Linked DNA regions of Homo sapiens: all the other regions are linked to region 3. Evidence: promoter capture Hi-C in human tissues and cell types (Jung and others, 2019). All regions are on one chromosome and are shown on one strand. The core of a region is centred on a gene start or on the middle of the fragment in contact, and the rest is flanking DNA. Distances in the headings are between cores, read along the strand shown.

The links. The method cuts DNA at HindIII sites, captures the fragments that hold promoters and counts their contacts. A contact is called where the count stands out against the background at its distance.
Region 1: a contact is called between a fragment that was not itself captured here and the fragment with the promoter of SOX1 in region 3, in 15 of the 25 tissues and cell types used here (H1 embryonic stem cells, IMR-90 fibroblasts, aorta and 12 more).
Region 2: a fragment that was not itself captured here is called in contact with the fragment with the promoter of SOX1 in region 3 in 10 of the 25 tissues and cell types used here (H1 embryonic stem cells, dorsolateral prefrontal cortex, liver and 7 more).

What each region holds. Positions count from the first base shown.
Region 1 is chr13:112,112,485-112,115,728 of GRCh38, forward strand. No RefSeq gene overlaps it. Among named protein-coding and RNA genes, the nearest start is that of LINC00404, 7.5 kb to the left of the region's middle. RefSeq lists an enhancer at 1-727. The HindIII fragment of the contact is 5,932 bases long and covers 1-3,244 here.
Region 2 is chr13:112,020,170-112,023,397 of GRCh38, forward strand. The region is part of intron 1 of SOX1-OT (SOX1 overlapping transcript); the gene reads left to right. Among named protein-coding and RNA genes, the nearest start is that of SOX1, 45 kb to the right of the region's middle. The HindIII fragment of the contact is 4,707 bases long and covers 1-3,228 here.
Region 3 is chr13:112,065,625-112,068,758 of GRCh38, forward strand. It overlaps SOX1 (SRY-box transcription factor 1), which reads left to right and starts at 1,525. Exons shown (of 1, transcript NM_005986.3): 1 at 1,525-3,134. The coding sequence starts at 2,035. The region is part of intron 1 of SOX1-OT (SOX1 overlapping transcript); the gene reads left to right. The HindIII fragment of the contact is 28,986 bases long and covers 1-3,134 here.

The DNA.
Region 1 (3,244 bases), core at 454-2,953, 47 kb after region 3:
TAGCCAGCGCAGCCTTGCTATAGTGTTTGTCTGGGGCAGGTGAGATGGGGTCACCTGCATCCGTGCAAAGAGGGGTCAGCGAGAATTGAACGTGGCCCATGACCTTTTGCCCTCCTTGACTCTTAGAAGCTTCCAGATGCACCACCATGATTTGACCTCACGGTCTTGAGCATGAACCCCTATGTGGAGTTGCGGAGAAGCCTTCAGAAGACCCACCACAGGTGTCCTTTCAGTTAGCAGGCTCACTGCCCACTGCACTCCACTGGTTTGACCTTCCACGCACCGTCTCACTGCTCTTACCAGCCCACCACCCTAGCCCATCACCCTAGCCCACCACCTTAGCCCACCACATTGGCCCACCACCCTAGCCCACCACCCTAGCCAGCACCCTAGCCTACCTCATGCACCAAACCCAGGACCATCCCAGAAGCAGACACAGCACACTGAGCCTTCCTCCAAGCCCTCCAGTGCTTCTACTGAAGCGTATTTCTCCCCAGAAGAAAACTAAGTCCATTCCTTCTTTCCCGCTGTGCATTTTGTGAGGACGGACTGGATGGAGGCCACAGAGCATGAGTCAGATGCCCAGCACACCCGGCTCCTCTCTGATCTGAGACGCCCATCACACCCGGTTCCTCTCTGATCGGAGCAAATCTAAGGTTTGTGGCTTTTAAAAATGTCTATTTCACGTGTTTCTCTGTTAAAGAGGAAAGGTGGAGGCAAGGGTGGGAAGGGCCCTCAAAGCTCCTTTCATGGGAGGATCTTTCTGAAGATCTGTGGCATGGTCTTTTATTTCTAGTCCAAAAAAAATTAACTGACACCTTCACTGGAGATTATTCATAAGCAAACACGGTAATTTATATTCTTTGATAAGACAGGAAAAGATGATAGGGTAAGAATTCAATGCAGTAGATGTTTGTCAGGTATCTACCATATTTATGGTGCTTTGCAAAGTGCAGGATACGGAAGTAAAGACGTTGGTCATGAATCATGCTCTCATGAAATTTACAACCTTGTAGCGAAGAGACAGTAAACACTTGTTCAGCAGGACAACTGCAATTACAGGTAATTCAGTGGGGCACTTAGAAAGGAGTGGCACTCTCCTCCTGGGAGAGGAGAGAACGCTTCCCAGGATCTCAGTCTTGAGGAAAGAGGAGAGGAAGGGAAAGACTTTCTTGCAGGGGAACAGCATTTACAGAGGCACGGGGCAGGACATAGCAAATCGTCTTCGGGAAAGTGGGCCCCATACCAAGGGGCAGAGCTACAGGAATAGACGCTTTGATGATTCTGCAGAGGAAAGGATGGTTCAGAGCTGGGTAGTCAGAGAAAGTTCCCAGAGGAAGATGGAATCTGCTCAGGGCCTCCAAGCAAAGCCCCTGCCTGGAGGGCCTGATTGGAAGGTAGCAGCAGTCCCTCGGCAGAGGAAGTGAGAGGCTGCACTGGCTTCTTTCCTGAATGCTTGCAGTGTGGGCATGCCTCAGCTTGGCTGAAGCCAAAGACGCTGTTGAGTATGTGAGCAGAGGGTAACCATGTTGGAGGAGAAGCATCTGGCTGTGCAATGGAGGGCCTTGGACGGCAGGTGCATGAATGCTGACCTGATTCTCTGGGCAGTGAGGACCTCTGGAGTGATTCTGAGCAGTGGAATACTGCTCAGTGCAGTACTCCTGCACTGAGTGACCTGCAGCATCTTGGTGTATGTATCAGTGTAAGGTCCAAGTGGGGACAGCTCACTATGACAGCCGCTGTGAACCTAGTCTTCAAGCACCTCTTGGTCCATGAGAATCAGCCCTTGAGAAAAGTCTTAGCAACTGTACTCATTCAGGGAGAGAGAGAGATCCATGCCTGCACTGGAGCAGGTGGGGAGTGGCCACACTCAGGATTCTTGGAACAGGTGAGTGGCCCCTGCGTGGTACACATGGCACCTGGGCCTGCCTGTATGACCTTCCACAATGTCTCCACTATCTGGCCCCTTGTTATCCCTTTGGTTGAATTTTCCATTTACACTTCCCTCTGCTCAACCCACATTAGCCACTTGACCGCTTCCTGCCCCACTACGGGCTCTGGCACCGCTGCTTCCGTTTCCCCAGAGGACTCTGCCCCTCACCTCCTCGCCTCCTACCATCGGCCCTTTGCTCAGAGGCCACCTTGTCAGTGAGGCCCTCCTGACCGCCTGTTTAAATTGGCCCCAACCTCTTTTCGTCTTCTTTCATCTCCGTAGCACTTACCCCAGGACCAAGCCAAATCCCTCCTTGGCTTTCTTTGTGTGGTCTCCGCACCCAGAACCACACTTCACCCGGGAGGGATTCCTGCCTGTGCAGTGCATGCTGCATCCTCGGCCTCTGTGCCTGGAACAAGCTGGGTGTGTCCTGGATATTTTCGAAGGAAGGAGGAATGAACATGTGGCTGAGGGTGAAACATGATGAAGGCCATGAGGAGGAGGCCAGCTTTGGAGACGGAGGGAGCCATGTCCTTGGATGCCGGGAGTGAATGGCCTGGGGAAACCCTGCGTGTTTGGGCAGCAGCCTCTGGCCTCCTGGAAGTAGACGGTCATGATTTTCGGGTGAAACAAGGAGGCAAGGGCGTGATTTCCTCAAGCCATGCAGCGGGAAGTGGAGGGCTGATGAGTGCCATGAGTCAGGGGTGAGTTTTGCCAGGTGAGTCCTGGGGCAGCTGGCACTGTGGGATCCTGCCAAGTGAGTGGAAGGGCTGGCCATGGGTGAGAGACGGAAAAGGCGGGTGTAGGACAGCCCAAGTGCAACGCCATTCACTGAGGCACTTTCTGAAGCACAGATGGGGCCCACATGCACAGAAGAAGGTTTGCTACATTGGGTAAGAATCATTTTCCGAGCTTTTTTGATGAAAAAATTGAATTGCCAAAATTAATATCTTGATCAAATATAAAATCCTTTTCCCATTATGATGGGTAATAAAATATACATCTATACTTAATGTTTAAGTGTTTATAGATGACATTTTTGGTTGATTTTTCAAAGAATGAAAGAAATTAAAACTTAATAAATGAGAGCATTTCAAAACACATCTCAGTACATTCTGTATTCTGGTCTGGAAAAATATTTTCACTTTAAACCTTGTGAACACAAGCTTTGAAATACTGATGACTTGGCAGTTAGCTCACACACCTTGAGAAAATTCTATTACATCCCATTTGTACAAGCAGAAACGACGTATCTTCTTCCAGAGGATGTTTTCTCCTCTTTGGATTTAATTGGTGGAAGAACAGAAGGCA
Region 2 (3,228 bases), core at 254-2,753, 45 kb before region 3:
TTCCCTGATCTTGAACTTCATACATGCAGAATCAGAGTGTGCAGAATCAGGCTCACCCATGCCTGGCTTCTTCAACTCAGCATGTTGGAGATTCATCCGTTGGTTTAATGTAATAATCATTTGTTCTTTTTTATTCCTCACTTGTGTTCCATTCTAAGAACATACCACAATTTACTTAGCCATTCTCTTGTCAACACGTTATTTGTGTTATTTTCAGTTGTTTGTGCTCATTTCTCTTACATAAATCCCCGGGTTTAGGAGGGATTATCTTAGCTTTGTAGTAAATACAGGGATATCTCATTTTATTGCATTTTGCAAATATTACATGTTTTAAAAATTGAAGTTTTGTGGCAGCCCTGCATCGAATAGGTCTTTTGGCTCCATTTTTCCAACAGTATGTGCTCACTTTGTGTCTCCATGTCACATTTTGATATTTCTTGCAATATTTCAAGCTTTATTATTATTATTATATCTGTTACAATGATCTGTGATCAATGATCTTTGACGTTACCACTGTTAACTATTTTGGGGCACCATAAACCATGCCCATACAGGAGCAAACTTAATAAGTGTGTGTATTCTGACTCCTCTACGACAGGCTGTTCCCAGTCTCTCTCCCTCTACTCAGGCCTCCAAATTCCCTAGAGCAAAACAATATTTAAAAGTGAAGTCACTTAATAGCCCAACAATGGCCTCTAAGTGTTCAAGTGAAAGGAAGGGTTGTACATCTTTCACTTTAAACTAAAAGCTAAAAATCATTGAGCTTAGTGAGGTTTGACATAAGCTTAAATAATTCAGCTAACGTCAAAAGCCGAGATAGGCCAAAAACTAGGTCTGTGGCACCAAACTGCTAACCAAGTGGTAAGTGCAAAGGAAAGGTTCTCGAAGGAAATGAAAAGTGCGAGTCAGCGAACACAGGAACGCTTATCATTCAAAACACACTTACTGCTGATATGGAGAAAGTCTGAGTGGTCTAGAGAGAAGACCCACAGCCACAGCATTCCCTGAAGCCAAAGCCTAATCCAGAGCAAGGCCCAAGTCTCTTCAGTTCTATGAAGGTTGAGAGAGGTGAGGAAGCTGCAGAAAAAAAGTTGGAAGCTAGCAGGGGTTTAGTTCATGAGGCTGAAGGAAAGAAGCCATCTCCATAACATAAAAGTGCAAGGTGAATCAGCATGTGCTGATGGAGAAGCTGCAGCAAGCCATTCAGAAGATCCAGCTAAGATCATTGATGAAGGTGGTTAGACTAACAACAGATTTTCAATGTAGATGAAGCAACCTTATATTGGAAGAAGATGCCATCTAGGACTTTCATAGCTAGAGAGGAGAAATCAATGCCTGTCTTCAAGCTTCAAAGGCCAGGCTGACTCTCTTCTCTGAGGCTAATGCAGCTGGTGACTTCAAGTTGAGGCCAATTCTGATTTACCGTTCCAAAAATCCTAGGGCCCTTACGAATTATGCTAAGTCTACTCTGTGGTGTATATGTTGAACAACAAAGAATAGATGATAGCATGTCTGTTTACAGCATGGTTTACTGAATATTTTAAGTCCATTGTTAAGACCTACTGCTCAGAAAAAAGATTTTTTTCAAAATATTAGTGCTCATTGACAATGCATCTAAGTTACTCAAGAGCTCTGATGGAGATGTACAAGGAGATTCATGTTGTATTCATGCCTGCTAACATAACGTCCATTCTGAAGCCCATGAATCAAAGGGTCATTTTAATTTTTCGGTCTTAGTATTTAAGAAATACATTTTATAAGACTATAGCTGCCATAGATAATGATTCTTCAGGTGGATCTGAGCAAAGTACATTGAAAACCTTCTAGAAAGTATTCATCATTCTAGATTCCATTAAGAACATTTGTGATTCATGGAAGGAAGTCAAAATGTCAGCATTAACAGGAGTTTGGAAGAAGGTGATTCCCACTTTTATGGATGATTTTGAGGGTTCAGGACTTCAGTAGACAAAGGAACTACAGATGGGGTGGAAATAGCAAGAGAAGTAGAATTAGAAGAGGAGCTTGAAGATGTGACTGAACTGCTGCACTCTCATGATAAAACTTGAATGGTGAAGAGTTGCTCCTTATGGATGAGCAAGGAAAGTGGCCTACTGAGATGGAATCTACTCCTGATGAAGATGCTATGAACATTGCTGAAATTACACAAAGGATTTAGAATATTCTACAAATTTAGTTGATAAAGCAGCAGCAGGGTTGGAGAAGACTGACTCCAATTGTGAAAGAAGTTCTATGTTGGTAAAATGCTATCAAACAACATCACATGCTACAGAGAAATCTTTCATAAAAAGAAGAGTCAATTAATGCAGCAAACTTCATTTTCTTGTATTAGGAATATTTGTGAGGCCACAACCACCTCAACCTTCAGCAATTACCACCCTGATCAGTCAGCAGCCATCAACATTCAGGCAAGACCAGAAAAGAAGATTACAATTTGTTACAAGCTAAGATGATCATTACCATTTTTTAGCAATAAAAGTATTTTTAACTGAGGTATGTACATTGTTTTTTAGACACAATGCAATTACACACTTAATAAACTACAGCATAGTGTAAACATAGCTTTAATATGCAATGGGAAACCAAAACATTCAAGTGACTCCTTTTACTGTGATATTTGCTTTATCGTGGTGGTCTAGAACTAAACCTGGAATCTGTAGGGTCTGCCTGACCTGCATCTCTAGGGTCTGCCTGACCTGCCAAACAGGCTGTCAAGACGATTGTCCCAGCTTACACTGTGGTCTGTACGCGTGAGTGTGTGTGTTTCAGAATAGGTTATGTTTTCACATGGTTCAATATCAAAACAATGTCAATAGGTATAGGTGAAAAATGTTGTAATTTTCCCCATGCTCACATCCACCCCTGCCCCTGCCCTCAGGTTACCACTCAGTTTCTTATGTATCCTTCCTGAGTTTCTTGGTGTAAACAGGAGGAAATATAAGTATTTATGCTTATTCTTATTTTCCCCACTTCCTTCCACACCTTTCTGTACCATCCTATTCCACTAAATATTATATTCTGGAGATTCATCCTTATTTCCAGCAGAGAGCTTTCTCATTCATTTTTACAGCTTCATATTTTGTTTATAATAAAATATACTATTCAATCATCTTTTATCTTTTATTAATGACACTAGGTGTATTAGTCTGTTTTCATGCTGCTGATAAAGATATACCTGAGACTGGGTATAAAGAAAAGAGGTTTACGGCA
Region 3 (3,134 bases), core at 275-2,774:
TGCCTCGGGGAGGGCAGAGGAGGAATACTTGGGCTCAAAAGTCGTCTTTGGACCACTTTCAGATCAGTCTGGTGGAAACGGTAGTGTGAGCGCTATGCTACTTGAGACTGCGTTTGAAAATCTCTTTCACGTTCCCAAATCAAAGCCACTTTGAGGTTTAAGAATGATAACCACAGGTGAATGCCTTACTCTTTCCACGAGCCAGGCCTTTCCTTTGCATGACGCAGACCGGCGGCTGAGACCCGTCCTGAGGCCCCGCCTTTCATTCGGTTTATGTGGCCCCGCGCAGTTCACGCAGTTTTCTCCGTTCTTAGGCAACCAGCTCGTGGGAAATTCACTCCAGAAAAGCGTGCGCCATATCATTATTTTGCGATTCAACAAACTTTTTCAACTGTTGTTCAGGAACTAGATTCCAGATAGATCTTGTTGTGTTCGGCCTTCCTAGAAATTCCTTTTCCAGAGGAAGAAGATCCGGGTTGGGAAGAGTGCGTGACTATGGCCCCGGGCTCATTGAAAGACTCCTCCCCACAAAAGTTTAGGGCTGATACTAAACGAAGCTATGGAGCCATGCCCACACAAATACTCCCCCTTTACCCGAATTGTGGGGCCTGGACTGTGAAGGCCTTCGCTGCAAGAGCGGGCACTGGCGAACTTCAGTGCACGCCGCGGCCGAGAACGGATGCAGGGCGGGGGATGGCTGAGCCGCCTGATCCTTGCAGAGAACCTGCAGGGGCCCTCGGAGGGTATCCCCTGCGTCCAAGGGAGCGCCCCTCCTTTTCAGCACTCGGGGGAACTGAGGGCGACGTGCCAGCCCCGCACTCAACTTTCCCCTTCCCTGCAGGCACAGAGTTGGCCGGCGGGGGCAGAGGAGGAGCTGGGTCTCCACTGCGCCCGTTTAAACCTGGCCAGGGGCTGCGTTTCCTCCCCCCACCCCACGACGATCCTTTCTTAGTCTTCGCTTTTCAACCCAATCGTTAATCATTCGGAACGCGCGGGCGGGGAGCGGCGAGGAGGGCGAGCTCGGGGTTCGCCGCCGCCGCCGCCGCCGCGCGCGCGCGCTCAGGAAGCGGTGTGGCTGTCACCCCCTCCCGGGCCTCCTCCCCCCTCCTTCCTGCTTTGCTCCCCCTCCTTCCTCCCCTCCTCCCCGCTCCGCCGCCCGCGCCCAGTGTATCTACTCCCTCCCCACGTCACTCGCCAGCGCGCCATGCAAATCACCGCCGCCGCCGGCTCCCATTGGCCGCGGCGCGCTCATTTAATGGCAGCCCGGGCCCGGCGTATGGCTGCTGGGCCCCGCGCGCCGCCGGCCCCGCGTGCGCCTCCGCTCCGAGCGCACGGCCCCGGGCAGGCAGCGGGCAGCCCATCCCGGGCTCGGCGGCCCCGGCTCTCCGGCCCTCTCCGCGAGCCCGCGCTCCTCCCGCTGTCCCCGGGCCCCTCCCTGGCTGCACCGTAATCGCCCCCTGCAGGCCCCCCTGCGCCTCCCCCCCCCCGCCACTGGCGCCTGGCTTCCCCCGGGCACCTGGGACCAGCACATGCCCAGCGCACGCGGCGCGCCGCCCTGCTAGAAGTTGCAGCCTCCGAGTTGGAGGCCGCTGAGGACCGAGCGCAGGAGGAAGGAGACAGCGCGCAGCGGCGGCCGGCGAGGAGACAGCACACCCCGGGCCGGGCCCAGCGCACCGCTCCCGGCCCCAAAAGCGGAGCTGCAACTTGGCCACGACTGCACCTGTTTGCACCGCTCCGCCGAGGGCGCCTGGGCTGCGGTGGCGGCGAAGACGGCGACCCCGACCGTCGGCCTCTTTGGCAAGTGGTTTGTGCATCAGGAGAAACTTTCCACCTGCGAGCCGAACCGGCGCCGAGTGCGTGTGTTTCTGCCTTTTTTTGTTGTCGTTGCCTCCACCCCTCCCCATTCTTCTCTCCGCTAGGACCCCCCCGCCCCCGTCTCACTCCGTCTGAATTCCTCTCCGTCTCCCTCCCACCCCGGCCGTCTATGCTCCAGGCCCTCTCCTCGCGGTGCCGGTGAACCCGCCAGCCGCCCCGATGTACAGCATGATGATGGAGACCGACCTGCACTCGCCCGGCGGCGCCCAGGCCCCCACGAACCTCTCGGGCCCCGCCGGGGCGGGCGGCGGCGGGGGCGGAGGCGGGGGCGGCGGCGGCGGCGGGGGCGCCAAGGCCAACCAGGACCGGGTCAAACGGCCCATGAACGCCTTCATGGTGTGGTCCCGCGGGCAGCGGCGCAAGATGGCCCAGGAGAACCCCAAGATGCACAACTCGGAGATCAGCAAGCGCCTGGGGGCCGAGTGGAAGGTCATGTCCGAGGCCGAGAAGCGGCCGTTCATCGACGAGGCCAAGCGGCTGCGCGCGCTGCACATGAAGGAGCACCCGGATTACAAGTACCGGCCGCGCCGCAAGACCAAGACGCTGCTCAAGAAGGACAAGTACTCGCTGGCCGGCGGGCTCCTGGCGGCCGGCGCGGGTGGCGGCGGCGCGGCTGTGGCCATGGGCGTGGGCGTGGGCGTGGGCGCGGCGGCCGTGGGCCAGCGCCTGGAGAGCCCAGGCGGCGCGGCGGGCGGCGGCTACGCGCACGTCAACGGCTGGGCCAACGGCGCCTACCCCGGCTCGGTGGCGGCGGCGGCGGCGGCCGCGGCCATGATGCAGGAGGCGCAGCTGGCCTACGGGCAGCACCCGGGCGCGGGCGGCGCGCACCCGCACGCGCACCCCGCGCACCCGCACCCGCACCACCCGCACGCGCACCCGCACAACCCGCAGCCCATGCACCGCTACGACATGGGCGCGCTGCAGTACAGCCCCATCTCCAACTCGCAGGGCTACATGAGCGCGTCGCCCTCGGGCTACGGCGGCCTCCCCTACGGCGCCGCGGCCGCCGCCGCCGCCGCTGCGGGCGGCGCGCACCAGAACTCGGCCGTGGCGGCGGCGGCGGCGGCGGCGGCCGCGTCGTCGGGCGCCCTGGGCGCGCTGGGCTCTCTGGTGAAGTCGGAGCCCAGCGGCAGCCCGCCCGCCCCAGCGCACTCGCGGGCGCCGTGCCCCGGGGACCTGCGCGAGATGATCAGCATGTACTTGCCCGCCGGCGAGGGGGGCGACCCGGCGGCGGCAGCAGCGGCCGCGGCGCAGAGCCG